6 separate regions of the Homo sapiens genome follow, and regions 1, 2, 4, 5 and 6 are each linked to region 3. The links are contacts of gene promoters, found by promoter capture Hi-C in human tissues and cell types (Jung and others, 2019). All regions are on one chromosome and are shown on one strand. The core of a region is centred on a gene start or on the middle of the fragment in contact, and the rest is flanking DNA. Distances in the headings are between cores, read along the strand shown. Region 1 overlaps LOC107983981 (a long non-coding RNA gene). Region 2 overlaps LOC107983981 (a long non-coding RNA gene). Region 3 holds the start of ONECUT1 (one cut homeobox 1). Region 4 overlaps MYO5A (myosin VA). Region 5 overlaps LOC107983981 (a long non-coding RNA gene). Region 6 has its middle 140 kb from the start of LINC02490.

Region 1 (3,765 bases), core at 868-3,367, 430 kb after region 3:
AGAGCCTATAAAATACTATATTACACATTTAGTTGTCATATCTATTTAGTCTCCTTTAATCTAGGAATAATTTCTCAGCCTTTTAAATTTTTTTTGACATTTTTAAATAGCCAAGGCTAATTTCCTTATAGAGTGTCTCACAAAAACCAAGCTGGTATCAGAGAGCTCTCCTTCCCATTCCTGTTCCTTTACTATATTTTTACTTATTTCTGTAGGTACAATTTTATATTTTATGATTTATTTCTCCCTGTGTATCTATAAGAGTAGATAGATAGGTAATTGATAGATATAGATATTTCCATAGTTTGTCTTTTTATATATAGAAAGTTATAGTATACTATACATGCACTCTTCTGTGCTTTGCTTTTTTAACAAATAATATATTCATATCAATTTATAGAGATCATTCTCATCCTTTTGGATGGTTATATAATATGCTATTGTGTAGATGCACCATGGTTTATTCAACCAAAATCTAGTGAGAGGTTTACAGGTTAATTCCAATATTTTGAAGTTACCATAATGCTGTAATAAATAACTTTATGCATATGTTGTTATAGAAGTAGATTTTTAGGGTGAACTATCAATTTTTGAGGCATATTGATAATGCTTTCATCAAGATGCCATTTGTGTATTTCATGATATTTTTATATACTCCAGATACTGTTGGTAACCAGTCTACCTAAATGCCAGAAGTAATAATCAGTCACTAACATGTCAGGCAATATGCTAAGATCATTATAATATCTCTGCTAAAATATTATGGGTGTGTTATTTTATTAGGCCACACAAGCACAAGTAAAGGGCATACCATGCCCTCTTCTTCTTTCAGTTTTTCTATTCGTTTGATATTTGTCAAAAAGTGGGGAGACATGCCTTTTATATGCTTATAAACAAGTGATGGCTACTATTTAAGAATAACACACAACCCAAATAAACTCAAACATTAGGATCTTATGAAAGAGAAATCCAAGTAGGTTGACTCGGTGAAGAAATTTAATATCAAATCTTCCACTGAGAATTTCTCTAAAGCTCTGTAGAGACGCTTTGTATTTTCTGCAGTTTTATGGGAAGCCAGGAAGCTAGAAACACTTTATAAAGTCACCTTGCCCTCTTTGTAAAGCTATCCTACTTTGTAAGTGGTTGGTTTAGGTTGGTTTAAAAACACCAGAAGCAACAAATTCAACATGAATTTCATTTATTTTTGAAAAATTGAGTTTGGCTTTGGAAAATTTTGCTGGCGCTCTGTATATGTCTGTTTTGTAGTGACCCTAAAGAGAGCAGATAAACTGATGACAAGAAGGAATGCAGGCCACCGAGCCTCCTCTGATTCTAACCCTATTTCTCATCTTGCCCTTTCTCACTGCTAGTCTTCTGCATCATTCACTCTCCAGGATTCTGCCTGCTCTTGCCCTGTGGAGGATCTGGGAGTGGAGATATTAGAGGCTCTGGGCAGTAAGTTGGAAGACAGTGCTGCCCACACACACAGCAGGCTCTGGGTGTGGGCTCCACTCCTGTCTTGGCAGTTTCTCAAACTTCTGTAACTTACCCTGTCCACTCTCCTCCTGCTATTCTATAGGATTCCGTCTAGGAACAAAAGCTTACTTACTATCTCATATTCTTCTAAATTTCTTATCTATGCTCACATGAATTCTTATTGTTCCCTTAGGGCTTGGCTTTTGAATCTCAAATACCAAAAACAATCTTCCTTACGCTATGTCATCCTTCCCTCAAGGCAATGCATGCAGACTGTGTGATTGATGGGAAGAATGATAAAGAAGAATCATATCCGAAAATATTAGACATCTCTTCTTGCTCCAAGGCCCTGACTCCTTGTCCCATTATCCTCATCTTCTTCCCTTCCAAACTCAGTTAAAAAAAATCATCTGCCAAAGGAGAATCAAAAGTGATCTCACTTTCAAACTTATTATTTACTAGAGGACTATAAAACAACAGGAGCTTTATGTAAGTGTTTTTTAAGCCTCTTACGTCCATCATCCATCTCTTCTCCTTGGTCATTCCTCATCTCAAAGCCCAAAGCCTGGTCTTTGGAGACAAATAGAGGTGGAACTAAATCCTGGCTTTGCAAGAGAAATAAGATTTCATGCTCAGTTTCAACATCTGTAAAATGGGGATAAAAATACCTATCTGAGAAATTTCTGATTAAGACTCAATAAGATATATTTACAGTGTATAGAACAGCATAGGTGGTCAGTACATTCTCACCTCTGCCTCCTTCCCTCCTTTTGTTCTCTCTCCAAACACATATCTATTGCTTAAATATGATCATTAATAATAATAAGAGAAACAACAATAAAGTCAAAGATAACAAGTCACAATCCCTTAACCATCTTGATGTTTTCATTCCCTAAGTTTCATTTACATCCAGTTCTGAAGGATCTCTATAGTCTTTAGTGAAAAGATAAGCTTTTTGAATAACGTTTCAGATTAAAGCAATCTAAAAACCAAAAAAAATACTCTTTCAGCTTCTGTGAAAGAATATTCACTGTTTTCATTTTTAAATCTTGAGATCAAGGATTTGAGGTAGGGGCTATTAAGGTAAAGATGAGAGGGAAGCAGAGAGAGAAAAAGAGGGATGAAGATAAGATGGGATGGTGTGGATAAAAGAAAGAGAGTTGTAAGCATAAAAGCATGAGGGTTATGGCTTGTCTTGCAAAATAGAACAGATGAAGTATCCTCTCCAAGACAATTTTCTTCTTTTCTTACCCTCTGTGCTAAGATAAATTTTCTTTTCGGATCATGATTATGGATTAATTTATGACTTCCCTTAATTGTCTGAGCAACGCAGGGTTAATGTCCTGGTAAGGACAAGTTCTCTTTTACTTTATGAGAGCAATCACTTAACGAAAATTAGGCTATTACTTTTTATCTCCTTCTCCTTGGCAATGCCTGATAGCATGGGACACTTCTGCAAATTTTCCTCCTCTTGCCTGTGTTAGGGAATAGATCTTTATTTGGCTTTGACACTTTGAAGATTTCCTGATAGTTGATAACAAGATTGAACTCCAGAAATGTCATCTGGTAAATCACATTGAAGCAGTATATCTTCCCAGGGCTGTGAAGGTTCTGTTTTTGAGTGAATGTTGGTTCTAGGAGAAGCTACCACTAGAAGGGAATTTAGAACTAGTAGATACCCAAGGGTTATGGTGCCTTCTGCCATTTCCGAAAACATCGAACTAGTGCTGGGTGGAACATAGTGCTGTTGAAAAGTTTAGTTTGGAGCCATATATGTGCCTGGAATTGGTTCCTGGATCTCCAAGTGCCAGCTGTGTGGGTTAGAGCTTACTCTACTTACCCTTAGCTTCAGTTTCCTCATACATAAGATGGGAATAAATATACTTGCTACTTTGTTGGATTCTATCATAAGTGATTGATTAATTTACAGACAGTTACTGGATTCTACTCTGTATCAGATACTATATTAGTTTTTCAGGGCATAGCTTAGGTTGAGATTGCCAGAAGTAGACCCTGAGACAAGGATTTGTGTGAGAGTGATTTGTAAAGGAATGCCTCCAGGAGAAACCTGTAACAGAACAGTGGAAACAGCAAGGGAGAAGAAGACAAGCAAGGGTGCCATTTCAGGCAAAGACCCATAGAGGGTGGCTTGAAGCTGATCTTGAAGGGGATCGCTGGAAAATAAGTTATGCTGCAGTATTTGTTCCCACCTATGGAAAAGGGATCTGGACTTTCGTACTCCAGTACCAATCAGTCATTGGCTAAGGGCTGTCCCATGGGTGAAGGGTG
Region 2 (3,674 bases), core at 615-3,114, 310 kb after region 3:
CATGTCTGTGCAAAAGCATTCCAAACTGAGCAGATGCAAAGAAATATTATCCTTTAGAACCCATTTGATCCCTTTTTTAAACCCAAGAAAACATAAATGCAACAATAGATCAATTTGACTGTAAATATTATCTAAGTATGTCCTTTAAAAGCCAAAGGAATGTCAGATACAATTTATTTTCCACCAGTGCAAGCTGAGACATTAAGTGGCAATTCTACTTCCATTAGCTAAATCTGGCAAATATGCAACTGTTTAAAGGCATTGTCGATAGCCATTCACGATTAAGTATTTGTACTGATGCCTTATTAAATTACCCTTTTCAAGTAGGCATAATAAACTAGGAGTTCACTGTGCAGATTTTCATGGGGAAAGTCAGATCACTATGGAATTTATTTAGAGAGAATTTAGTGCACTGAGTAATGAAGTAAATGTCAAATGTTTTGACCAAATAAATCTTATCTTCCTTAAAACTTTTTTTTGAGGTCAAGAGACACAGCAAAATAAAAATCCCAGTGATTATAATGGTCATAATTTATAACTTTATTGAAACAACTTTAAAACTTTGATTGTTTTTTAAATAATGAAATCTGTTTTGTTTTTAACTGACAGCATTGCCCTACACAGGGGATTTCTACTCTTCCTTTACAAAGCTGGTTTCTTCCAAACATTAAGATCTCTTACAGGGACTGAATGATAAATGGATGAATGAGGAGGATGATGAAGGGGGAAGGTGATGGAAGAATTAGGACAAGGAGGCTATGCAGGAGATTGGTAAGCAATGAGCTAAGAAGGCTTTGAGACCTATTGAGAGATTCTAAACTCCTGGATGGGCCTATCTGCATTTTGTCTGCAAAGCAATGGTAACTAGAAAATTGGGCTGGGCGTGGTGGCTCACGCGTGTAATCTCAGCACCTTGGGAGGCTGAGGGGGGTGGATCCCCTGAGGTCAGGAATTTGAGACTAGCCTGACCAACATGGTGAAACCCCGTCTGTACTAAAAATACAAAAATTAGATGGGCGTGGTGATGGGCACCTGTAATCCCAGCTACTCAAGATGCTGAGGCAGGAGAATGGCTTGAGCCCAGGAGGCGAAAATTGCAGTGAGCCGAGATCACGCCATTCCCCTCCAGCATGGGTGACAAGAGCTAAACTCCATCTTACAAAACAACAACAACAACAACAACAACAACAACAAAATAAAAATAAAAACAAACTAGAAAATTCTTTATTTAGTAATGCATTGGTCTCTCCTTCAGTCATTTGATATAGTTCTCATCATTGTAATTCTTAAGCATTAATTATGTATTTCTAGTTCTGGTACCATAATAGTTTCTAGGTACAAATTTTTCTACTCCCGTTTTCTTCCTTCCCCATCTATGTACCAAACCTAGAAATGTTTGACACTTGGTTGGCCTTTAATTGCTGCATATGCCCAATACCAAATTTTCTAGCACTGTGCTTTGTTCATGATAAGCATGTTAGTTATTGCTGCTTCAATCTAAATGAAACAAATGAATTAGCAAATTCCTTTTAACTATTACATGTTAGTATAGTTTATACCAACTATTTGGATACATGGCTGAATTTCTCTAGTTTTTATCCAAGTATTTGATGTTACATAATGATAACCTCTGTGACTTGTTTTTTTTTTTTTTTTTTTTTTTTTTTTTTTGCTAAAATTGCCAAGAGGAATACATTTGCTTTCCACTTAGCCATAATATAAAATACAACCTTGGGAATGGCTGCTTTAAAGAAACGTTTCCATAAGATACATCATACTTGACATACTTTAGGGAAGCTTCTTCAAGGAGTTGTGGTTAATATTTTTGTAATGAGAAAAAAGAATCACTTCAATGACCTTTCCTGAAAACTTTTGATTTTCATACATAATTATTTGTTGAAGGTGAAAATATGTTTCTATTTTGAGTTTTTTGAATGCTGATTATAATCTTTAGATTACAATGCTCCTGTGTATTGTATTGATGAAAGATAAACTGAGGCACATACAGATTTTTTTTTTTTTTTAGTGTCCTCCTACACAAGGTAAGAAATTAGCATAGGAATCAGGATGGCTAATGTTAAGACACCAAATAGATACTTTTATTACCTCTGGATTATATATTTATTTTAAAAATCTGTGATTCTTTTGATCCTGTAAAAGTGTGGCCAGGCTTTTACAGAATTTTCTAACTTTTCAATAAATGTTATCTTTATATATGCAAAAATACATGTTTTATTATTCCTTATTCAGAATACCTTAGAGAAGGGAGGTAGTATGTGTTAGAGGAAAGAAGTAAAACATGAAAGATATGGTTTAAGATCTACTTGAGAGAATCACTTACCCTCTCTGGCCTTGGAGGTTTGAAGTAGATAATGTGTTAAGAACAAGTAAGAGTTTCAAAATTTTTTTTTTTATTTTTTTTTATTTTGTGCGTGTGTGTGTGTGTGTGTGTGTGTGTGTGTGTGTGTGTGTGTGTATACATGTGTGTGTGTATTTTAGTCTGTTCTGAGCCCAGGGACACAGACTCAGTAGTCAGGGGCAAGTGCTGAAATGGAAATCAGGATAAACGACAGAGCAGCTGTCCTGGAAGTAACGTCAGTGGACTGTCTTTTAACAATGTGAATCCCTGGGCCCTATCAAGTCAGAATTTTCTAGGAGGGGATGGAAGTGAGGTGGGTCTGTGATTCTAATAAGTGCCTCAGGTGGTTCCAATGGTCACTGAAATTTAAGAACCAGTTCTATTAGATAAATATATTTGTTTCTCTTTCCCTGAAGATAATCGTTTAACAGCCACATTCATACATTTCTTACAGAAAACATGGGCATAATTCCTAGCTCCCTTCAGATTGCTAATGGCTAGAGGGTGCCCAGTATGGAACATGAGGCCAGGCTGGCCAGTGTGACCAGGGACACCATGGACACCTGAGACTTCTTAGCAGGATTTCTTGAAGATTATGATAAGATAACCAACAGGGTAGAGCTTGCCTAGAAGGTGGTGAGCCTGAGGCTTGGGTCTGAGAGAGGATCTTTGAAGAGACAGTGCAGTGCTCCTAGGTATTGTTTCCAACCTGCTTAACAAATTCTTTTTGTGGTTCTTGGAATGTTCAGAGCAACAGACATTGAGGTAATCAGTAATCTCTGAACTAGGTGATTGACAAAATTTAAAAAAAAAGTTACTACAGGAGGGTCCAAATCAGGGCAGCTTCCCAGTTGTTATCCTGCTAGAAACTAGCTACAAATATCAAGAAGGAGCCCCTTATGGTGTGACAGTCTGTGAGAGGCAGCTGTTGGGTAATGAGTAAGATTCTGGGGTTGGGAGCCAGATGCGCAGGGTTCACATTTCTGGCCCAGATTTACAAGCTGTGGAACCCTGAGCAATCACTTCTACTGTAAAATGCAAAGACAGGGCCTATCTTGTAGAGTCATTATGAAAATTAGAAAACTAATACATGTCGAGTGCTTAGAACAGCCCCTGGCACTGTTAGCTGTTACAGTTAACCCTCCCCTGCACATAGTAAAACAGGCAACGTCCTGTGATGTTGGAGCGGAAGGATGTCCAGTCTGCATTCCTGTTGACTAACAATGGGGTCTGAAATTCTTACTATTGATAGATACTCTGGATTAAGACAGCAGCAATTCTAGAATTATTGCATGATTCAGGAGGAGTACATGTT
Region 3 (3,554 bases), core at 150-2,649:
CGCGAAGATGGCCTGTGGGATGCTGTAGCGCTTGAGCTCGGTGGTGATACGCTGCGCCACCTCTTTGGTATTGATCTCTTCCATCTGCCCTGAATTACTTCCATTGCTGACCTGCGCGCCGGTCACCGAAGGGTTGGGCTCCCGGGCTGTGCCCAGGAGTTGCCCGTGGCCCTGGGCGTTCAGGTGGGCGTGGGGATGGTGCGGAGGAAGGCCGTTGATGGGCACCATGCCGGCCGAGGTGGGCGTGAGGTGCTGCTCCCCGTGGCGGCCGAGCATGGCCGGGTGGTGGGCTTCGAAGCCGTTGGGGGTGAGCATCTTGTCGGTGGGCATGGCGGCCCCCGGGTGGGCATAGTGGGGGAGCCCTTGCTGGGAGTTGTGGATGCTGCCCAGACCGGAGCTGGAGAGGGGCGAGAGGCTCTGGCCCATGCCGGCCACGTCCTTGTGGTAGGGGGTATAGAGGTTATTCATGGAGGCCAGCCCGCGCTCATCCCGCATGAGCGTGAAGCTACCGCTCACGTTGCCCGCCAGGCGCTGGTGGTGGTGCGGGTGGTGGTGGTGATGGTGGTGGTGGTGATGGTGGGGGAACTTGTCCGAGACTGTGGAGATGGGAGGCAGCGGCTGCAGAGGGGTCAAGGTGGTGTAGGTGGTGGGCATGCTCATACCTGGGGGAGTCTCGCAGGCCATGGTCATGGTGGGATGCAGGGGGCCGGCCAGGCTGTGCTCAGGGGCCCGGTGGTGGTGGTGGTAATCTCCGCCGCCGCTGCCGCCGTCCAGCAGGGACGCCATGCCCATGGAGCGCGGGTGCGCGGGGGGCAGGTGGCTGCCGCGGTGCGCCACGGAGCTGCGCGCGTGGGGGCTGCCGCCCAGCAGGTCGGCAGGGGCGGGCACCGGCTCATGGCTCACCCCGTGCAGCTCGCCGATCGCTTCCATGGTCAGCTGCGCGTTCATCGTGATCCGGGCGAGCAGGCGGCGGACACAACATCGATGTGGCCAGGCAGAGGCGGCGAGGGGCGCACGGAGTCCGGTCTTCACATCGGCTGCTGGCGACTGTTGCCTTCCTTCCTCTCACTGTGGGGCTCTGTCTCTCTCTCTCTCTCTCTCCGTGTGTGTGTGTCCGTGTGTGCGTGTGCGTGTGTGTGTGTGTGTGTGTCTCGCCTTCCCTCTTACCCCCCACCTTCCCCTCTGCGTCCTCGGCTTTTTTTTTTTTAATATTAATTTCCAAAGAGGATCCGCGCCGTTGGGAGAGCGCAGTGCCCCAGCCCGCCCGCCTCGGCCACCTCTCGCCCCTCTCTTTCTTAAAATTCTGAGGTCTCCGGCTCCCCTGCCGCGGCCCGCGCGCCTGCCGCGTCTGCTGCCTGCCCGCCCCGCTGGCCAGCTTGAGCCATGGCTCTGTTACTGTTACAGACTCTGTGGCCGCGGTTCGGTAGCCGCCGCCGCCGCCGCCGCAGCGGCCCGCCCTCACGCCCGCCAGGCGCAGCGCGCATGCGCGAGGCCCGCCCCCGCCCCCTAGGTCGCGGCGCGCCAGGCCCTTGGCGTCCCGGTACAAATGAAGGAGGGGGCCCAGCGCCTTCCCTGCGGCGCTGGATGGCCAGGGAGCTGCGGGCACGTGCGAAAGATTGGCGCAGAGCGCGACCTGGGGCCGCCGCTGCAATCCCAGGAGACTCGCGCCTGGCTCGCTCGCCTCCCTTGCTTGAGTGGGCTCTGTCCTCCCAGCCCGGGGACGCTCGTGTCGGGCTTCTAGCGGCTGGAGTGCTGTGCTTGGAGACATCGCCCCTCTCTCTCCAGTTGCTGCTTCCCGGTGCAGCTTGCCCGGGGAGCTGGGGACTGTGTCATCACCCCTTCGGCTCTAGCCCACTAAGCTTTATTTCCCGGGGGGCTGCTGGGAGTGCGCTTTCCCACCCTTGAATTCACGGCCTATTGGGGGATGGGGGTTGGGGTGGGGTGGGGTGCAGATTGCTTAAAGGGCTGGGTCCGTTTGGCGGCCGTTGACCCGGCACCCTTCGTCCTCCCAGATACATACTTGCCCACCCTTTCTCATCCATGCCCTGGGGAGAGGAGTAATCAGTGCCAAGAATCCCAGTTCGGGCCATACCTCACTGTCCCCCGCCGCCTGGCTCCTTCTCCCGCTCAGCTCATAATTAAGGCTGTGCGTCCGCTTCGCCGATGACTCGGCCTGTGGAGGGGGGCGAGGGAGAGCGGAGGGAGTGCCCTGGAGGGTACCCATGTTAACTTCCGGGTGCTGGTGGGGCCGTGGAGGCTCGGGCCGTCCCTGCGGTTACTCCCAAGGCCCTCCTGCTAAAGCACCCGGAGGCGGTTGCTTTCCAGAAGTACTGACGCAGACAGGGTGGACGCCGGCGCGCGGGTCTCCGCTTGGCCCCTAGGGACGCCCTTTTCCCGGCGTCCCCGAGAGACGCCTCCAGATTTGAAAATCAATTCAGCTTCGGGAGTAATTTCGCCCTTCCCACAGTCACGCTCCAATCTGGAATCGAACCTGGTCTTTGGGCCTGGTGGGGACGTGTGCGGAGGCCCCCAGTTTGAGACGTACACCCGGCCGCCACATGCCGCGGCTTTCTTTCATTTACAAAAGAAAGAAAAAAAATCCGCAACAAAAGGCAGAGCCGTGTCCGCTTAGGTGCTTTCATCCCTCAGAGAAAGGACAGATGTGCCCATTGTCCAGCCCGTGGCAGTTATGGCCGGGTCAGCGCCGAGCCTCAGCCCCAGGCAAGCGGTGGTTACAATGAGAATAGCCTCTCAGAGCCGGGGTATCTGGACTCAGATATGGAATAAAGTGTGTGTAGCCTGTGCTGGGCCAGACTCAGACTGTAGGTTTGCTTGCTGGGGCACCGAACTGCAGCCCACCCGTGGTGTTTCCACTGCAAATGCTCCCAAGCCCTTAGAGAGGCCAAGGCTGTGGTAGTGGTGGTAGTTGGGTTTCCAAGGCAAAAGTTTGGGCTGGCCAACCCTTTGGGAAAAGTTCCCACCGGCCCAGGCATGAGTAGGCCTATCTCTTTGCCCAGGTCCCTGCTACCACCAGGGCAACATCCTAATCCAGGTAGGTCAAGTTCAGTGGATACAGTCAACGTGACTTCCTTGAAGGCGGCCATGTCCTGGGACTGGTTAATCTAGCTGGTTTTATCACCAGAGGCACTCCCATCCTGTCCAAACAATGCATATGGAGGCCCTGCAAATAATTCATCTCAATGGATTTCATGTCTACTTTCATAATGAACAGTTAGGAATTTAGGAACCCCCAGAGAAGAAAAGATATTTTAGGGAAAATACACTGATGTAAAGGAACTCAGAAAACACGATTAACTCTTTAAACTTGTATCTATATCTACCTATTCATACACGCATACACACAAGCACAAAACATATATTTCCTGCCTAGTATATTACAGTACCTTGGTGGAAAGCTGCATCTTTGGTTTTTAATTGTTTCCATTCTCATTTCCTACAGCATGAGACCAAACAATGGGTTAAAGTAGCAGGGAGTCTTTCAGCTAAACAGTTGTCCCCCCGCCCCCGCCCCAATATTTTAATCCCGCTGAAGT
Region 4 (4,026 bases), core at 2-2,501, 450 kb before region 3:
AGGTTGCAGTGAGCCGAGATTGCACCACTGCACTCCAGCCTCAGCGACAGAGCAAGACTCTGTCTCCAAAAAAAAAAAAAAAAAAAAAAAAAGGAGTTTGGCTTTAGCCTTGTTCACTGCTAGATCCCTGTACCTATAACTCTTAACAAATAAACACATAAACACACTAATAGAAAAGATAAGATCCATTTGTATATAAATAATAACAACAACTGATATTTGGTTATTTCTCAAGGAATTTTTTCATCATCATCATATAGAAATCATGAGATGTTTTTAAAAATCTTATTTCTTTATCATCATAATTCATATTTTTCTTTTTTACTTCTCTATTTTTCCTCCATTAGACTGTAAGTTCTTTGAGGACAGACTCTATCATACTCATCTTAGTATCCCTAATACTAAGAATAATGATAGTGACTAATAACTAAGTCGCATGAAGCATTTTTACTATGCGTCAGTAACTTTTCTAAGTGTAATATACTTATTAGGTTGATGCAAAGGCATTTGCAGTTCCTGCCATTAAAAGTAATTGCCTTTGGACCAACCTAATAGCTCATTCAATCCTTATAAACCATGTCAGATAGATGCTATTATCTTTCTAATTTAACAGATGGGAAAGCACAGGCATACAGAGGTTCAGAAACTTGCCCAATATCATATGATTAATAAGTAGAAGAGCTAAGATTTGAACCCAAGAAGCTTGACTCCAGAATCCACATTCTTAACTCCTATGCTATACTGCCTAGCACATTGTCTGGCATATAGAAGATATTCATTAGATGCTTACAGAGTAAAATCTGTAAATTATTACTACCCATGAAAAGAACATTTTTCCTCATTTAAAAATGTAAATTTCTACTCAAAAGAGGTTAGGTTTGCCAAAAGTCATATTTTGTTATTATCCCTAATATTTGCATGCAAACCTCTATTAGGCCACTTATATAGCCTAGTCTTTAAGCCAAGACTCAAACCAAGACTCAGTGACCGTCTTGAAAAAAAGGTTTAAATACCTTCTAGTTCGCCAATTTTTTTGGCAAATACTTTCAGTTGTTTTTTCAGTTTACGGACCGTCTTATCCTGTTTTTCAAGTTGTTCCATCAAATCCTAAAGATCAAAAAGAGAAATATATTAGAAAAATCGAAACAGGCCTTCTAAAATGCATCAAAGGAAAATAGACACAATATCACAGAAACAACACGTTAGTTTTACATAAGAGCTCATTGGTGGAGCCACCACCTGGCTAAAATTGGCAGGCATGGGAAATGCAGCTACAATAAAAGCCATATGTTAAAATATACAACGCAGTAAACTCCTTTACAGCGTGATGGACAGCAGGCTCACTGCAGAGTCTTTCCAGTAGACTCCATGTGGGAAAATCAACTGAATGCTTTGTAGAATGTATTGGTATTCCAGTAGAATGCTTTCTTTTAAAGGAGGACTGACTAGGCAAAAATAAATTTTGATGAATGCACAAAAAGGTTTGTGGAAAGAATGGTTGAACTTAGGTAGGAACTGACACTCCCCATGTGTGAAGCACTGTCTCTATGAGAGCCACCCTATGAAATTCTAAAATTAGCCCTGAAACTTAAGAATAGTTCAGAAGTTTTGGGAATTAAAAGATAAGTTGAAAAAAATAATCACAAAGAACAGGATAAAGAGTGGTCTGCTTACCTAGGACCAAAGTGGCAAGTGGCATAAGGCATCTATAAAATCTTGCAGGTGATATAATTTTGCTTATACAGAAGAAAGGGGTATTTATGAATGCTTTATGCAAAAACAGAAACAAAAGCAGTACACTTAAGGAGGAAGGTAAAAAAAAGTCCATGATTATTGGCTATTTAATAAAGAATTTGCTCAAATGACAGACATGGTTAAAAACTCAATCAAAAAGAAAGTGGACAACAGTAGGCTCAGTAACAGCTTAGAAGGGCTATGAGTCAGCAATGTGTGTGGTCTGTTATTCAGGTTATGGAGAAGAAAGGCATTCCAAATACAAATATTCATTTTCCAGTTTAGACAGGAGTAGATTTAGCTACTAGGCCAACCATTAAAGGGAACAGTTGCTATCTCTTCAAAGTGTTAAGTTGTACTTCTTGGATTTTACGTGACCTTTCAAATCACATTTTGCTTCCATCACACTGTAAGCCTAGTGTTAATAACAAACCAAACGTGACAATGGACTCAGGACACTGACAGAGGTGACACCACTGGCTAAAAGACAGCTGTGGGGAGAAACAGGTTTCGTGAAAATTTTGAAGAGACTTCCTGGGAGGGGGCAGGCAGCAGTGTGCTCTTCAGTTACAGAGGGCTATAAGTAGCAAGGGAAGACAGCAGAAAAGCACTATGGTTTTACATACAATCATCCGTTTGTAAAGGGAAATCCGATATGATTGATACTTCTTAGGGTCATCTGCATATAATTCCTCAAAATACTGAAAAAACAGGCACAATGGATATTTGTTTTTGTCTGTGTGTTTGAGGGAAATGCTATCTTTCAGCAAAATCAATTTTAAAATATTTTAAAATACAAATAGTGAAACTATATATACTTGAAAGGCTCTGATTTGTCACCTTCCATTACCCTTTTATCTTTCTAGTATAGATTATTCTAATTACATATGTACAGATGTTTCTTGTGTGAACAAAGGAAAGAGGCTGTGGCCAGGATGCCATCACTTAGCAGGCCCAGATAAGGCTGTCATTTCCCTCCTCCAACCTCCTGCCTTTTTACTCCCAGCCTCCCCAACACATGATGCTCACAACTTGCTGCACTTTTTTTTTTTTTTTTTTGCCGCCAGCAGCAGTGGCAAGAATAGGGGAGGTAAATATAATAAAAGTGAGAATAATAGCAATGTTAGCTTGTGAAGCTGGAGAGGCTGGTGGGAAGCTGTGCATCTTCCTTCGCTGAAAGACAGCACGGGGGAGGCCTGTGAAGCCTGTTCACTAGATGAGGTAGAAAAATCATTTTTGTGTTTTGTGTTGGTGGTAGGTAGGTGGGCAAGGTAGAGTTTCAAGAGCACTAAGCCCAGGTCTCCTGCTGGGCTTTAATATCCTACTCAAGTGTTTCTTATAGAAATGCACAATTAAGATTGAGAAAACAATGATTTTGAAAAAGTCTATCATTTCCTGTACTTATGTTTGAATCCATCCTCCTGAATTAGTAGTCAGTGTGATGGCAGGAGAAGCAGCTGACCTACAAAAGGTTTTCCCCAAACTCAAATTCATTAACTGGGCTCTATTAGCTTAGAATATAGGGGCTTAGTCTATTTTTTGTATTAGCTATGAAAAATTGCCAAAAAAATTAATATTGCAAACAAGGTTGCAAGAGAAATGTCTGACCAACTTAGTGAAAAAACCCTGGAAATCTGCCACCCAGAAGCATCTTTATTTCACGATTTCACCTTGTATTTTAAAACAATAATTTAAAGCACAGAACTTGTATGCCAATCAATCAACTTATTATATTATTCAGTATATTTGGTAATACTTAGTCATCAAAGCATTGTTAGTTTAATTTAAGCAACAGTATACTTGAGCTTTGTAAAATAACACTTCAAAAAATATTTCATGATTCAGAAAATTTTCCCCACAAATTAGTGAGATGTCAATCACTTTGGAAAGAGCCCACACACTGCCCCCACCCTCCTCCCTCATTCCCATGGTGGAGCCTCATACAGACAGACTGTGAAAAAGAATACCTTTGCGTTTTGCTTCTAATTCATATAAAAGATGGTTGAATAAATGACACTAGAAAACTGTTTGTAATGTAAATTATCACAAATGGAGTAATGGAGGGATAATTCAGATTGTTAAATCTTCAGAGAAAATTCATACTATTTTATTATAGGTCATTAAAAATGTTAATTTAAAAAAGACACAAATCACCACCAATCCTAAACAATTTTTCTCAAAATCGGGCTAGCACTACAATATAGACTTTATATAGAAATATGAAATTATCACTTTTTAAGGATTTTTAATATAGTAAATATATTTGTCAAAAAACTGTAAATCAGTAATAAA
Region 5 (4,007 bases), core at 1,430-3,929, 340 kb after region 3:
GGCAATCGTAGCTCTGTAAGCCTGGCCTGCTCACGTGGAAGTAAATTATTTGATGAGCTGGGGAAATATAAGCAGTTTGTGTGGATTAAAAGGAAATCCTCACCCAAACTATATCTTTAAAAATTATCTAGATAATTCAGGTGAAAGCAGGCTTTCTCCCTTGTGAATTATTAAAGTAATTGATTACATCCATCTGCTCCTCGTCAGAGAATTCAAGGGCCAAATGCTTTTTCGGCGTCTCCTTTTCTATCCTTCCCTTTCATGTGACTTACTCTTGTCTGAATCAGGAGTTTCTGTGAATAATCACCGGCCAGCTGTCACCGGTTCTCTTTTCACCTGTTCTCTTTGCAAATCTGAGCAATCCAAACCTGCAGGGGTAACATTCCCCAACTGACTGAGAGTACATAAGTGGTTCTTCAGCTCTGAGATGATCCTATCATTGGCTGCTTTAAAATTTGTGATTAGTCTGCTTTTTGGGCATGTGAAATATAATTGGTGGTGCAGATAAACTTTTATTCACCAGAGAGAGCTTATTACAGAGCTGCTTGTCATGACACGTGGAAACTCAGGAAACTTCTGTGGAGTCTCTGTGTGGCGATTCTGGCCAGAATGGTCGTATGTTTTCAAGATGCTAACTCTAGTTTCCCCAAAGCTGTCTTTTGCCTGCTGGCTTTGGTCCTATTCCACGTGACTGTGGAGTGCCTCAAACTCAAGACAGCAAATGGGAAAGGAACAGGATCTGGCTCCTGGGAATGGCCTGCTACCTGACAAGGTGCCCTGATCAGCTGAGTGCTAAAAACCCCGTGCTGCCCTGTGAGCCTACACGTCGGGTGAATGATCTCCAGCTGGATACATAGGGGGATGCAGGGTTAAAATGGAAGTATTTGTTTCAATTTAATTAAACATTTTAGCCAAAATTCTACGTAAGCTGTGTTATATGTAAACTTGAAACCCAAACCCCTGGTTTCAGTTGCCCCCTCTTATAATTATGAGGTTCATAATCTTGGCCTTGGATAAATCATATAAGTTCTTTGAGCCATAGGTTTTCCATCTGTAAAGTGGGGATAATGGTTCCTGCCAGGCCTCTCTGGGTTGTCATGAAATTTGAATGAGAACCTGAAAGCAATTAGGGAGCTCTAAGCAAGCTGTGTAACTATATGACAAACGGGTGCGTGGTTTAGAATAATAATGTGTATTGAGCACTTACTATGTGTGAGGCATTGGTCTACCTTACATGTAGTCACTCACTTAGTTGTCATCACAACCCCATGAGATGGATACTATGATTGTTTGTTCCACCTTTCATGATGGAGAAAGTAAGGCAGAATGGTTAAGTAACTTGTCTTAGGTGGCCCAGCAGAGAAGTGGCCTGGCTCTGGAGTCTGAGCTCTTAATTTCTGTATACCTATAGCACCTTCTACATCAGCTTTCTAGGAGCAATGTGTATTGGTAAGTGGATACAAGTCCTTGAGAAGTACCAGTCTAGTCCTTGTTTTGGTTAAATTGGCTAATTGACTAATAACAGTAGAGGCCTTCTCTAGCATGGGATACCCAAAGCTTCAATCAGGTAGGACCACTAGGCATGGTAGCTGCTGTCAGGATCAGTATAGCCACCTGAGTGCCACCTCCACCTCCCTCCCAACTTCTTCCCCACTCTTCTGGCTCTGCCAGGAAACTATGGTGCAACACTGTCAGGCTGCATGGGAGGAGGAGAGCACAGACTAGGAACCCCATGGGGTTGTCCTTGAATTAGTCCTTCTTCCTGACTTTCAGGATTCAGCCATGAATACTGCCCCCTGAGGGAGCAGGAACCAGCACATTGTCCTGTACTCCAAGTGGGGTTCATACCCCCTTCCTTTTGTCTTCAGGAATTCTATAGCGATTCTTCCCGATTAAATACATGCCGGTCAATTAGGAGCTTATGGGCTCAAATCCATGAGGCCTGATGATTGACTCTCCTTGGTCCATCTTTCTCAGCAGGAACAGACAAATCATCAGGAATTTGAACATGTGTCTTTTAAACCCACCTTCCTTTGCTGCTTGCTATGCATGATGAAATTTCACATGAGAAATCATGAGATCCTCGCAAGATGCTCTTTGTTTGCCAATGAATTTTGATTTGGTTTTAGAAAAGTGGAAAGTGCAAATAGAATTAGGCTTGAAAATTATTCAAGAATCATTTTAATGCTCCCAGGAGATTGGTCTGCTAACTCACATAGATTTCTGCTCTCTGTCAGAATTTAGCCACTTCAAGGAAGCTTTTGTTTAGAAAGAGGTAAAATCTTTTAGAGAGAGATCACTTGTGAATTATTTGACAATTGCTCGTATTTGCTTAATGTTCTAGAGAGACATAACAGGGTATTTGAGATTTTACATTTTATATAATGTGACTTCTGAAAATGTATTTTGGTTTCCTTTTTGAAAGATTTTTGCCTTTATAAAAATGATAATGAATTATAATAGCTCTAATTATTAGCCACATTCTCTGTTAGACACTTTATACAATCTCTGTTATTCTTCCCAGCAATCTTTGCAATGTAGAGATTATAATTTTATTTTATTTATGATAAAACTTTATGTGTCCTCTCAGAGAGATTAAGTAACTTGCAGAGGATCATAGAGCTGATTGTCAGTTAAGCTGGAATTCAAATCCTAGTCATTGTAACTCTAACCCCACAGCATCTTAGACCTGTTGGCCCCTCAGAAGGAAGGGTGGGCCTAGAACTTCAGTGCTACCCCTTCTCTGACATCACTAGTTACTAAATCTGCAATCAGCCTCAGCCTGTGCTTGGTCAACTGTAGCTAGGAGCAGCCAGGAATCTTAAAGGGCCTCTAGAGAGAATTCCCAAATAGGTTCCTTTCCCTCTGAATTAGTAGATAGGCAGGTCTTTGGCTCATTTGGAGGGTAGGTTAGCAGGGCATAATGGTTAAGTGCTCAGGTCCTGGAGTTAGTCAGACTTGGTTCAACTCTCAGCTTTATCAATCTGGGCAAGTTTCTTATTCTCTTACTATATAGTTTATGAGAGTTAGACAGAGGATTGCAGGTAAAGCATGTAGCTAATGCCTGGCGTGTGGTGGGCTCAATAATGTCATTTATTATTATTGTTCTATGTTGCTGTAGAGGGAGAAAAAGCTCAGACTGTAGGTTTATTCATACTGTTTCCTTGTTTCTTCTATGCACTAAAGTCCCTTAAATAGTTAACCATTGGAAAACTGTGTATTTTAGAAGAAGAAGAAGGTAGATTTTAGCTTAAAAGCATTCATTTCAGACTATATTGCTAACTAATGGCAGAATCAAGAATGAAGACACAGGACTTCAGACTCCATTTCCATGATTCTCTTTACCACACAAAGGCAGGAACCTTCCAGGTGTCTGGCAATACCACCAGTATAATGATAAGAAACATTTATGTTGCACCTATGGTGCTGATCACTTTACACACCTGACCTGACCTAATCCTCATCACAGCCTATGAAGTAGATAGCTCCATGCAGATGAGGAAACTGAGCCTTGGAGAAATTAAACAGCCTCAGGTCCCAAGATACATGAATGTAATCCAGGATCCAAACTGTCTGTCTTTGATACTGAGACTTTACAGTGCAGTACCTGCTGGTGTAATTCCTTCTGGAATCAATAAGCCTATAGATCTGAGTAAGAAACCACCACTGATGTGATCATTGAGACACCACTTAGAGTGAAGCCAGTCCCTTTCTCTCAAAGTGGAGCACATGAAGCTCTGGAGGGAACTGGTCTGTGGGCTGGGGCTCAAGGAATTGCATGGAAATAGGGGGAAACCTATGCTTTTTATATGAAAGCAAATGGATATTGTGGAATAAGATGCTAAATTTACATGAATATTAAAGAATAAACAGGAGGCTTTGACTACATTTTGAGCTTTTAAATTTTGTTTCTGAACCTCCAGAGACTCAAGCTTACTGGCTATTGGTGTCAGGAACACTCCCATGAAAGAGTTTTGGAAATCCTGACTCAGCCAGTCCACAAAGTT
Region 6 (3,488 bases), core at 818-3,317, 470 kb after region 3:
CAAATGGAAACAACCTGAGCAGAGCTGGGATGAGACTGCAGCAAGGGAGGGCCCAGGGTACAACATTCCAGGAGAGGCTCACTCCCAGGACTGGACAAGTGCTTGCACTTGTGCCCCCTTGGTCCTGGCCCTGGGAACCAGAGATTTCTGCCTCTCCCACTCTTCTGCCTGCTCCAGCACAGGGTTGGAGCCTCAGGGAGGAAGATTGGGCCTTGATAGACAACCCATTTCTCTCCTCCATCTTCTTGGAGCCACAGTTCTGGTATATGTAGATTTGAGCTTTAAATTGGATCTGAGCGTGAACTTTCTTGGACTATATATTAATAACAGAAAGGGTCTGAATAATAGTAGAATTGGACTAAGACATGATCAAAGGATTCACAGGAGTCACTATCAAATAAAAAATTTGAGAGGATTGATATTACATGGCTGAAAAGTTGACATTACAAAAAGCAAGTTTATATAAAAAGTTATTAAGGCTCTTCAAGAAAGTGGTTGCATATGACAGTGCTTCTGAAGAGGCAGGAAGAAGAAGGCATAGTAGAAAAGAGGTCAAGGAGGGAGACTTTCTGTTTTCCTCTCCTTAAAGTTAGTGGTCCTGTGGAGAAATTGAATATTCAACAGGCCTAGGTTTCTATCCTGGCTTCATTTACCTATAGCTGTGGAATTTGGATGAAGTGCTCAAGCCTTTGCTTCATAACTTGGAAGTAGCGCTAAGAATCCCTATTCCCACTCTATAGTACCGTTGTGAGCATAAAATGACATAGGATACATAATGCACTTGGCATTATGCTTAGCACCTAGAAGATGGACAACGCATGTTAGCTCTTTCCCTTGTCCTGGCCCCTATTTCAATGAAGAATGGAACTTTTCAGAGTACACATATGAGTGTTGTATGTGTTGGGTGTGTGTACTGGAGAGAAAACTGTCTGAGAGGTAATTCTGGAAAATATGGGACTGGGTGAGGAGGAACTCTAAATTTACGAAGAACACAACATGCTTCCAGTCTGTGTAGGAAAATAATCTGTTTCAAGAAACGTTTGAGCTGAGTGCTTAGGTTTAAGTGTCACTGAAACTATGAAAGCCCTGTGAAGCCTTACAAAAGTCATGTTGGGCACATAAAAGACATGCTACTTTCTTCAGTGGGTAGCAAATCTATGGACCTTAAGAATGGTATATGTGTGAAACTAATAAATAGCTTTCAAGATATATGGGCATAACCACAGAGGTTAGAATTGGAGCTGCTTTTTTTTTTTTTCAAGCTCGTTCTTAAGGAAATTTGTGATACATAGAGTAGAAATAATATCTTAGGAAGTTGACATCATGGAGGTCAACCTCATTTTCCTACCAGGTAGCTGTCAGGGAGATTGTCAAATCCTGGGCCCAGTGTCCCAAGGGAATTGTCCTTTATGATATTTTTGAAAATGTTCATGTGTATAACAAAATTCTAGATTTTCTCTGTGCTTTCCCGATTTCTGGAGGAAAACATTTCCTGCACTGAAACAGTTGCTTTTTGCCCAATCATTTTGTTTACATGAATAAAGAAATTAATTTATCTTGAGGTTTAGATTTGGAATTATCCCATATTTACCTCTGTCAACATTTTCATGGGAGGGAAGAGTAGTTACTATATTGGTCTTTCTTGGAAATCGAACACTCTTCTCATTATCATAATACTGGTATTTATGCTCTGGTATCAATGGATTTTTTTTTGCAGTAGAAATTTCCTTTTAAAGGTCTTTGTTCAGACATTTAAAATCCAGCCATAAATATTTCTCTGAAACTGGGCAGGGGAGGTTTAAATTATAGTCCTTTGAAAAAAAAAGAGAAGTAAAAAATTCCCCCCATCATATTGGAACACCGAAATGAGAGCACATTAGAAATGTATTTTAGGAAAAAAATAAAATATTCATATCAAATAAGGTTTTTGGTCATTTTTCAAAGTAAAGAAATGTGAGATACACATATTACCTCAGACCTAGTTGCAAAATGCATCAAATGTACTATTTATTAAATGTACTATTTCATATTTCATGAAATTAATAATTTTATGTTTTAATCTATCCAGTATTTCCTGGTTTACCAACACTTTACTTACATCATAATGAGTGAAGATAGGTATATTTTATGTAGGTATGTATGTGCAGTGAATTCACATCAAACTCAAAATCGGAAAAACAGGGGATCTAATAAATGCATGAGTGATATCAAAAGCACTCTCTGTACTATTTCTTTCCTAGATATGATTGGCAGTAGGACCTCTTGACTTAGTACATAAACACAGGTTATGGGGAAGAAAAGTGCTGGCATTTTACACAGTTTATCTTCCATTACTGTATTTAATTTTTGAAAGGACATTGGAATCCTTTGGGAATTCTATCACAGCCTGAAATTCTGCTACCAATTACACATTTTATTTCTAGTTGATTTAGTGATAAAATTTAATATGCCTTAAAATAATATTGGAAACTTGCAAGGAGAAGCACCCCTTCATAAATAGAAGAGATATATCCCTGAAAGAGTACGTTTACATCTTTAACTCTTTACAAACACCATTATTATGGTAACTAGATTATATTTGCTATCCTAGAATGTACTAGCAATGTAATTCCAGAGGACAGGGTTGGAGAGACTCTCCTAGGATTGAAGGGTTTGTGCCTGGGTGAGAGGTCATGATGGCTGGAGTAGGAGAAGCAGACTGGTATAGGTGGTAGCTGGGGAGAGAGGACTCTTCTAATGTGTACCTCAGTCTAAAAAGCTTGGAGCCAGTGGGGTTTTCCATGGTCCTACTCAGTAAAGATCTTCCTCCAATCATACATTCATACACACCTTGTGCTTCCAATGTTGGGTACCCCTAGATAAAGAGTAACATGGAAAGGAATGTTTGCAAACATTCATCCATCTACTTGGCTCAGTGAGGTTAAGGACGAAAATACTTCATGTGCAAGTGGACGTTTTTCCAACTGCCAATGAAAACTTCATTCCAGAGCAGACCAAAACACATCAGGGTTCATAACATGGATTTCTCAGCGTTTTTCACTGACTTCTTGGAAATTTTCTCCCTAGTAACCCCAAATGTGTTTCTTTTAACTTCTGTAAGGTTGAACTGAAAACTTTCTTGCACTCTCTTCAAACTCCAAACTCTTTTTCAAATAAATGCCAACACTAACGATCAGTTGTCAAAAGCAAATGGGCATAAACATGTAGATTCCATGATGGGGTTTAGGCATCATACTTTTAAAGGACAACAGGCCTTCTGTAGATGCTGTGTCTTATTTAGGCACCGGCATCTTGACTCTGGCTTTGTTCTTCTAGTTTTTAGTTTGATAAAAATTTACCAGAAAATAAACTATTCAAACATCTGACTAGGTCAACTAGAAAGTATAGCGGATGAACTGTAGAAGACAACACTCAAGAATTTATGACATTTCAGCCTTATTGTAACTTTCCAATTGTTTTAAACACAGTCAATGACTGAAGGCAGGCAG

Evidence for each region. Contacts are between HindIII fragments. The study calls those that stand out against the background at their distance.
Region 1: a contact is called between a fragment that was not itself captured here and the fragment with the promoter of ONECUT1 in region 3, in 2 of the 25 tissues and cell types used here (dorsolateral prefrontal cortex and lymphoblastoid cells).
Region 2: a fragment that was not itself captured here is called in contact with the fragment with the promoter of ONECUT1 in region 3 in 2 of the 25 tissues and cell types used here (dorsolateral prefrontal cortex and mesendoderm cells).
Region 4: a fragment that was not itself captured here is called in contact with the fragment with the promoter of ONECUT1 in region 3 in 1 of the 25 tissues and cell types used here (thymus).
Region 5: a contact is called between a fragment that was not itself captured here and the fragment with the promoter of ONECUT1 in region 3, in 3 of the 25 tissues and cell types used here (H1 embryonic stem cells, dorsolateral prefrontal cortex and mesenchymal stem cells).
Region 6: a contact is called between a fragment that was not itself captured here and the fragment with the promoter of ONECUT1 in region 3, in 1 of the 25 tissues and cell types used here (H1 embryonic stem cells).

What each region holds. Positions count from the first base shown.
Region 1 is chr15:53,214,593-53,218,357 of GRCh38, forward strand. All of the region lies in intron 5 of LOC107983981 (a long non-coding RNA gene), which reads left to right. Among named protein-coding and RNA genes, the nearest start is that of LINC02490, 100 kb to the left of the region's middle. The HindIII fragment of the contact is 5,942 bases long and covers 1-3,765 here.
Region 2 is chr15:53,102,928-53,106,601 of GRCh38, forward strand. All of the region lies in intron 4 of LOC107983981 (a long non-coding RNA gene), which reads left to right. It overlaps LOC105370823 (a long non-coding RNA gene), which reads left to right. Exons shown (of 4, transcript XR_932261.3): 4 at 610-931. Among named protein-coding and RNA genes, the nearest start is that of LINC02490, 12 kb to the right of the region's middle. The HindIII fragment of the contact is 3,019 bases long and covers 356-3,374 here.
Region 3 is chr15:52,788,937-52,792,490 of GRCh38, forward strand. It overlaps ONECUT1 (one cut homeobox 1), which reads right to left and starts at 1,400. Exons shown (of 2, transcript NM_004498.4): 1 at 1-1,400. The coding sequence starts at 948. It overlaps LOC105370824 (a long non-coding RNA gene), which reads left to right and starts at 1,494. Exons shown (of 2, transcript XR_001751550.2): 1 at 1,494-3,554. RefSeq lists enhancers at 1,396-1,690, 1,687-2,455, 2,456-3,223 and a silencer at 1,438-1,507. The HindIII fragment of the contact is 12,558 bases long and covers 1-3,554 here.
Region 4 is chr15:52,335,450-52,339,475 of GRCh38, forward strand. MYO5A (myosin VA) reads right to left here. Exons shown (of 42, transcript NM_001382347.1): 33 at 2,361-2,435; 34 at 1,014-1,107. Among named protein-coding and RNA genes, the nearest start is that of MYO5C, 42 kb to the left of the region's middle. RefSeq lists an enhancer at 2,792-3,368. The HindIII fragment of the contact is 5,720 bases long and covers 1-4,026 here.
Region 5 is chr15:53,129,428-53,133,434 of GRCh38, forward strand. All of the region lies in intron 4 of LOC107983981 (a long non-coding RNA gene), which reads left to right. LINC02490 (long intergenic non-protein coding RNA 2490) reads left to right here. Exons shown (of 3, transcript NR_147181.1): 3 at 1-271. Among named protein-coding and RNA genes, the nearest start is that of LINC02490, 15 kb to the left of the region's middle. The HindIII fragment of the contact is 3,905 bases long and covers 728-4,007 here.
Region 6 is chr15:53,258,551-53,262,038 of GRCh38, forward strand. No RefSeq gene overlaps it. Among named protein-coding and RNA genes, the nearest start is that of LINC02490, 140 kb to the left of the region's middle. The HindIII fragment of the contact is 4,957 bases long and covers 1-3,488 here.